2 separate regions of the Homo sapiens genome follow, and region 2 is linked to region 1. The links are contacts of gene promoters, found by promoter capture Hi-C in blood cells and fetal thymus (Javierre and others, 2016). All regions are on one chromosome and are shown on one strand. Each heading gives the region's core, a stretch centred on a gene start or on the middle of the fragment in contact. The rest is flanking DNA. Distances are from core to core; before and after follow the strand shown.

What was found. The method cuts DNA at HindIII sites, captures the fragments that hold promoters and counts their contacts. A CHiCAGO score of 5 or more calls a contact.
Region 2: a fragment that was not itself captured here is called in contact with the fragment with the promoter of KCNMB1 in region 1 in 2 of 17 cell types (naive CD4 T cells and neutrophils); the score reaches 5.6 in naive CD4 T cells.

The regions. Positions count from the first base shown.
Region 1 is chr5:170,387,779-170,391,360 of GRCh38, forward strand. KCNMB1 (potassium calcium-activated channel subfamily M regulatory beta subunit 1) reads right to left here and starts at 1,589. Exons shown (of 4, transcript NM_004137.4): 1 at 1,481-1,589. KCNIP1-OT1 (KCNIP1 overlapping transcript 1) reads left to right here and starts at 1,715. Exons shown (of 3, transcript NR_109899.1): 1 at 1,715-1,825. It also overlaps a transcript of KCNIP1 not described here. RefSeq lists enhancers at 1-204, 205-705, 2,630-3,130, 3,131-3,582. The HindIII fragment of the contact is 12,470 bases long and covers 1-3,582 here.
Region 2 is chr5:170,078,844-170,082,425 of GRCh38, forward strand. It overlaps DOCK2 (dedicator of cytokinesis 2), which reads left to right. Exons shown (of 52, transcript NM_004946.3): 49 at 132-303; 50 at 1,320-1,440; 51 at 2,999-3,141. Among named protein-coding and RNA genes, the nearest start is that of FOXI1, 25 kb to the right of the region's middle. The HindIII fragment of the contact is 7,937 bases long and covers 1-3,582 here.

The DNA of each region.
Region 1 (3,582 bases), core at 339-2,838:
AAAGCAACAGAATCACCTGGAGGTAAGCTAAAAGCCCCAACAGCCTGCTTCCCCAGGACCTGCAAGGGTCACTGGCACTTGGCCCCACCCCAGATACTGTGAGACATAAATCATTTGAAGCCAATGGGAAATCCCATCTTGGAAGCCTAGGGCTGAGTGCCCACAACAAAGCCATTTCTCTCCTGGGGGAACTGGATCGCACCTGTGGGGGCTTCCTGTGGCTCCTTCCTGGCTAATCAGCCCCCCCCAGCGCCCAGGGCCATGGCCTCCTCTGCTATTTGGCTTCTAGTGCCCTCTCAGGCCCCTGGGCACTCCTGAGGCTGGTGAAGGCAGGAACCTGGTTTTACCAGTTTTAGGAGCTCAGAAGGAAAGGAAAGGAGAGGCTTCCCTGTCACAGAGAAGTCTGGAAACTTGGCTTATTCAGGTCTGACCCGTCTCTAATGGTCTGATGAGATTGTTGCCTGCACTGAGTGAGTTTATAGAGTCATGATAAATCCTCCTAAGACCATGCGTGGGGTTCAGTGTAGATATGACTTCAGCAAGAAGTTAGTATTCAGCATCCAAAGGGAGAACCTTTGGCGGGAGGAAGGATGGGAACTGTCAATATCCCCCAAGGGACAGAAAGAAAAGGAAGAAGTGGGTTTCAGCTATCATAGGAGGGATTTCAGTTAGACTGTAAGAAGAACTTCCCAGTTTTGAGCATTTCTAAATATCTCTGAAGTTCCAGGATATATCTTCCCATTTAGAAAGGTCACTTGAGATCTGGGATAGATTCAGAGAAGATGGAGAAGGACAAAGGAAGGCAGGACTTTGGAGTGTCCTGGGTGACCTGATAGCTGGGTCGACATCCTTTTCCTTAGAAGGACAAGGAATAGAGTACATTGTTGAACAGTTTGGTGGGGTGTGGACAGGGCGATTCTGAGGTCCTCAGACATGGAATCAAATCCTGGCTCTGCCACTTACACTTAGCAACCACATGACTGTGAAACGAGAACCATGGTACCTGCCTCAGAGAGTTCAGCTAAAGATCAAATGCCATATTGAGTATCAGACATGTATCATAGCACCTAGCCCCAAATCAGCCCCCAGTAAATATTAGCTATTACTACTAACGAAGGAAACCCTGAAAGTTTGGAGCAGAAGTCTGGACCCCTCTTGATGAATCTATTTTTGTCCCACCTCTCTACCGGTGACAAGTGCCAGCATTGGTGTTAATCTCCAGGCTGCAGCCTTCTGGCCACTCTGAGAACTGGGACCTAGAGGGCCAGGGCGCTTACTACCAGAGTAACCTGGCCACTGTGCCACCCTCCCCACTGGCCACCAGACCACGGGCCCTCCATCCAGAAGGACAGCCCCGAGAGGAAGGGAGTCCTCCTGCCTGCCTCCCTCCCTGCCCCGTGGCAGGCTGCTTTCCCCTGTCTCCCTCCAGCCCGGTCTTCAGAGAAATCACTTCCCAAGTGCTTTCAGGCCCGGTACTCACAGTCTTCCCGGCGTCCTGTGGGTCTTGAGCAGCAGACAGTTTCTTTCTGCCTGGACCCCCGCCCCCACCCCAAAAGAGGCCACAGAGCTTCAGCAGGAAGTTTGGCCTCCCCGCCCGTCTCCAGGGAAGCAGCTTTTGGTCCCCATCTGGGGCAAGCCTCCATGCCCAAACATGGTCAAGTCTGAGCACACAGCCTGGAGACACAGACTCGGAGAGCAGGTACCCAGCCCTGAGGAAGGCAGCTGTTACCCAAGCCCTGCACCTCCATCTTCCCAGAGTCTCGTGGGAAACAGATTTCAAACAACAACAGACAGCAAGACTGAGAAACTACGAAAGATCAGCCTGGTATATTTGGAAATATTTCTTCTTCTCTCTGTCTCTGTGGGCTGGCAAAGATGCCAGAAATAGGAAATGATTCTCCTTTTGTTGGCATGAGGAAGGGTGGAGTTGGGCTGGAGGGGTTGGGCTTGTCACTAGTCCCTGGCATATCCACGCTGGAGCAGCTACAGCTCCCTGCCTTTGGCACTTACGTGCTGTGTGACCCTGAGCAAGTTATGGCACCTCTCTGGGCCTCAGTTTCCTTTTTTGTTTTTGGTTTTACTCCCAAACTTATCGTTAAATGACCTCAGTTTTCTCACTTGTGTTACTGGCATTTTTAAAACCTACTTTGCTTTAGGGTAGTGATGGGAGTTAGAGACGGTGGGGATTTATGGCAAGGGGAGAGAACTGACTTTTTAAGGACCAACTGAGCTGAAGCTGGGAGTAGTGAGAGCTCCACAACTGCTTCCAACCAGGTCCAGGGACAGTCTGCTCACCAGGGGCCCTCCCAGAGACCGCGAAAGTACAGAGATTTCTTCCTAGCAATAAGACAAGTGAATGTCAGCATTTGCAGGCAAAAAACATGCTTTTAGATCTCTGCTTCTTCATCTGTAAAGTGGAAGTAAGGATTAAAAATCAGCAACAAAGGGCAGGCACAGTGGCCCACGCCCATAATCCCAGCACTTTGGGATGCCAAGGTAGATGGATTGCTCAAGCCCAGGAGTTTGAGACCATCCTGGGCAACATGGCGAAACCCCATCTCTACTAAAAATACAAAAATTAGTCGGGCATAGTGGTGCATGCCTGTGGTCCCAGCTACTTGGGAGGCTGAGGCAGGAGAATCGCTTGAACCTGGGAGGCGGAGGTTGCAGTGAGTCAAGATTGTGCCACTGCACTCTAGCCTGAACAGAGCGAGACCCCGTCTCAAAAAAAAAAAACAAATATATATATATATATATATATTTTCAACAAAACAACAAAAACAATCCCAGATATTGGGGCTTTCCTAAGTATCAGGCGTGGTGGTAGAAGGCAGCTTATCTCCACCCTTCACTTGACCCAAGAATCAAAGAACCTGAAACTGAGACTTGGAGGCTTGAAGTCACTGGTGCAACCCTAGGGGCCAGAACTAGATTCGAAGCTGGCCCTTCCAGATGGCACAGCTTGGTCTGTCTCTGATGACCCTGGGGCTGCTCTGAGACATTAAAAATCACCTCGATCATACAGTAAGCTGCCACCTGAGGCTCTGGAGGTCACCCTGAGTTTCCCCAGCCCCCAGGGAGGTGGGTGCAGCCTGGCCTTCCCTGCTGAGCGAGCTCACCACCTTCCTCCCTCCTGCCTCCAGCAGGCGCGAAATGAAGGCAGCCACTCAGGCCTCCCTGACACACTCTCAGGCGGTGAGTGCCCTTCTCCACCCCTTTCCTAATTGAATCTTATTAACAGGAGACTACAGTGTCTGTTTAATGGGCACCATAGCACCAGAGGGTCTAAGACCAGCTTCAGACCTTGCAGGCAGATTGACAGAGGGATGTAGGATCTGGAATTCAATCTCAGAAGAGCAATTTTCCAAGGATGATCCTCTGTCCACTCAGAAGCAGGAAAAGTCCTCCTGGGGCTAATCCAGAAATGCCAGGCCCCCCTCCTGCTTCCCTGGGGGAGAGATACACAGTGCAACAGGCTGCCATTTATGAGTATAACCGAAGGGCTCCTTGCTCGTGATACTCTGAATAAGTTATTAAGGGCTACATATTATTTGGAAATCATAAACAAACTTTAGCATTCTT
Region 2 (3,582 bases), core at 819-3,318, 310 kb before region 1:
CTGATCTACTCCAGACCCTGTAGTGACAGCTCAGGCAGCCCAAAGGTCCCCTTCAGCTTCCTGGGTCCTTGCAAGGCAGTTCTACTGAAGCTCTAACTGCAGTTTCTATTGCTGCCCCTCTGGCCTTTCAGCTTTGACCTGGAATTAGCATCACCCAAGACGCCGAGAGTGGAGCAGGAGGAACCGATCTCCCCGGGGAGCACCCTGCCTGAGGTCAAGCTGCGGAGGTCCAAGAAGAGGACAAAGAGAAGCAGCGTAGTTTTTGCGGATGAGAAAGCAGCTGCAGAGTCGGACCTGAAGCGGGTGAGTGGCTGAGGCAGATTGCCTCTCCAGCGCTGTTAGCACATTTCCACTACATGCTGGGCACAAAACCCAGGGCTTCCAGATATGGGCTTCCTGAAGCCTGCCACTGCGGTGCTATGGGTATTGCAGAGGCGGCACCTGAGGAGCTGAGAGGTGAAGTGCTTACTCGTGCCCAGGCAGCTGGGGTGGCTGGGACATGACAGAGCTGGGAGTTGAGCCCTGACCTTTGCACTTCAGAGCCTGTGTGTATCCTTTCCACCATCACACAGGGCTTTTCCAGGCTGGGGAGAATCCACCTGTTCTCCCACCAAAAGGGAGAGCAGCCCACTTGGTACTGAGCTAGGTGTTTCTATAGCCCCCAGCCCCAGGCCTATTCTAACCACTGATGTCTCAGACCCCTGCAAGCCCCTCCTGTGTGCCAGGAGTCCAGGTGGGGATACAGGGATGAAATCTCACTGTCCTGGCTTTGAGAGTGTTGGTCTTGTAAACTAACGATTATTTAAAAATGAGACTTGGTTTCAGACAGCCCTGGATTCAATCTTAGTTTCCCCCTGGAAAAGAGGTTTGTTGGAAGTGTTCTGGGAACCTGGGAGTGGGAGATGGATTAACTGCCCTGGCAAGGGAGGGGTGCCAAATGAAAGAGCAAGGGGCCAACCAAGATGCCTTAGTGAAGAAAGGGCCCTCCAGAAACTTCCCAGTGGGCCTCGCAGGCTACTCTTGCGTGGATGGATAAGAATGGAAATGTCTTCTGTGTTTGTCGATTCTAGGGGACACCATTTACATGATAGTCTAAATGAATGTCCGCCACCCCCGCCTGTAGTTGTGTAGTGTGCAACCTGTGCAACCATATGTGGCAGGCTGGCATGGAATGGTATAATACAGAATAAATGAACTTGGAGCCAGCTTCATAGAAACCATGCCACGCCCTCCTCACTGATCTTTCAGAGACCCAGATCTGCCTCATGCTAAGCCTCTGTCTTTGTGTGTGTGTGTGTGTGTCTGGTGTATTCCTCCAGCTTTCCAGGAAGCATGAGTTCATGAGTGACACCAACCTCTCGGAGCATGCGGCCATCCCCCTCAAGGCGTCTGTCCTCTCTCAAATGAGCTTTGCCAGCCAGTCCATGCCTACCATCCCAGGTATGCCCCCTGCTGCCACCAGCATGAGGGAGTAGAGATAGTGCAGGCCACCAGCCTTGTGGGTGGAGGATGGATGGGAACTGTGTCTACACAACAAAGTGGGCCAGGCATCCTGGAGTGAGAGGCTCTGCTCATAGCCACCCACCCTCTAATCTCTCCCCACACCCACCACTTCCTGGGGGTGACACCATCCCAGCAAGCTCCAGCAGGGACAGGGGAGAGGCCTGCTGTCCCTTGGGCCCTCAGGATTCACTGAGCATCCATTTGTCACACTAGGTGGCCCCTTGTTCTCAGTTAGCCAGGCCTCCCCAGGGGCCAGAAGTTTGCCCTTGGTATGTCCCTAAGACCTGTGGCTTCTTTGTGGACCTGGAAGACTCTTTCTGGCTTTACAGAAATGGCCACCACATCTTATAGCTGCAAAGTGTTTGGTGCATAGATGCTACCTATCTGCCACCGTCGTCACTCACTCACTGTCCAGTGAGGAGGTTAGAGCACAGCCGATGGTCCTAACTCACAGAAGGGAATCTGAGGCCCTAACAGGGGACATGGCATGCCTGAGAGCACTCCATCTGGTAGGCAGAAGTCCTTGACGTCTGCTGCTATGTGCCTGGCTCTGTGTGCTAAGGGCCAGGTCAGAAGGGAACAAGACAGGACCAGTGCTGCCCTGTGGAACTCAGCAGGCCGATCATGGTGAAGACGCTTGCTGTTTCCTGAACATTGAGGGTGCCAGGCCCTGCGCCAACTGCTACTCCTTCTTTATTTCATTTACTCCACTGCGCATACCCAGGAAGTAGTTCATGTTATCCACCCCATTGTATGGATGAGGAAACTGGGGCACTGAGAACATCACTCTCTTGCCTATCACCAGCCAGCAAATGGCAGAGACTGAGTTCAGACCCAGGCCCTCTTCCCTGGAACAGGCACCTACCCACTGCCCCGCCACCACCCCCAGGATAGCCTGAACACAGCTGCAACATTTGGCCCAAGCCATTTCACTGGTATCTGCTCAGCAGGTCTCACCACACCCTGGCGGTCTGGGCTCTTTCTCCCATTTGGCCAATGTCAAAACCAGCAGTCAGAGAGTAACTAATTTTTCATGTCTCTGTGACGCCAAGCTGGGGCTGTAACCACTAGGTCATCTGGCCCCTCCACCAGGTGACACGTGGGTTTGAGACTCTCTTCCCGCTGTCTCCTGCAATGGGGAGAGAAATCCAGGGTGTTGGTGTTGGGAGCTGGAGGAAGAGTAAGCTCACACTGTCCCCTGCCTTGGAGCAGAAGGTTCTGTTTCCTGGGGATGTCAGGGCTTTGGGGCAAGGTTTTGACCAGGAGCCAGGAGGCTGAACCCTTGTCTGTAGGGTGGGCAATCTTCACTGCAAGAGGACAGCTTCAATGTCCCCTGGCACGGCAGGAAATAGGCATCCTGCCTCCTGCTTGGCACATACAATGTGTGATCCCTGGATGCTGGCTCTGTCCCCCAGCCCTCCCCCTGTCTACCTCCCCCAAGGCACTGCCCCTCCTCTACCCACCCATTCACACCCCAGCTCTGCTCTCCTTCCAGCCCTGGCGCTCTCAGTGGCAGGCATCCCTGGGTTGGATGAGGCCAACACATCTCCCCGCCTCAGCCAGACCTTCCTCCAACTCTCAGATGGTGACAAGAAGACACTCACACGGAAGAAGGTCAATCAGTTCTTCAAGACAATGGTGAGGACATTGAGGGTGGAAGGAAAGGAAGGCATTGGGAGGAGAAAGGGAAGAGAGCAATGCAGAGAGAAGAAAATGGGGGGTTGTGTGTGCATATGTGGTCATTCCTAGGGAGGCATAGTCAGGAGGCCCTGAGTTCTGGGACACTGTGCAGCAATGCCCAGAGGGCAGTTCTCCTCTGGGGCCTCAGGCAGCTCCTCTGACCAGGATTGACCCCAGCTAGGGATGTGCAGGACCCAGGGACCTCAGAAGCAGTAGGTGGCCTACCCTCGCCTAAACTGCCCCTTAGTGCTCCAGCCCTTTTTTATTCAACCTATATCACAAAATCCTACAAATTGAACATTAGTTTCCAAGCGCTGATTCTGCAAGTCCCATCTCCTATTGTTACTTGTTGGCCTTTGCTCAAGATCAAGAAGGTACCATAACACATCTGATCCTCAA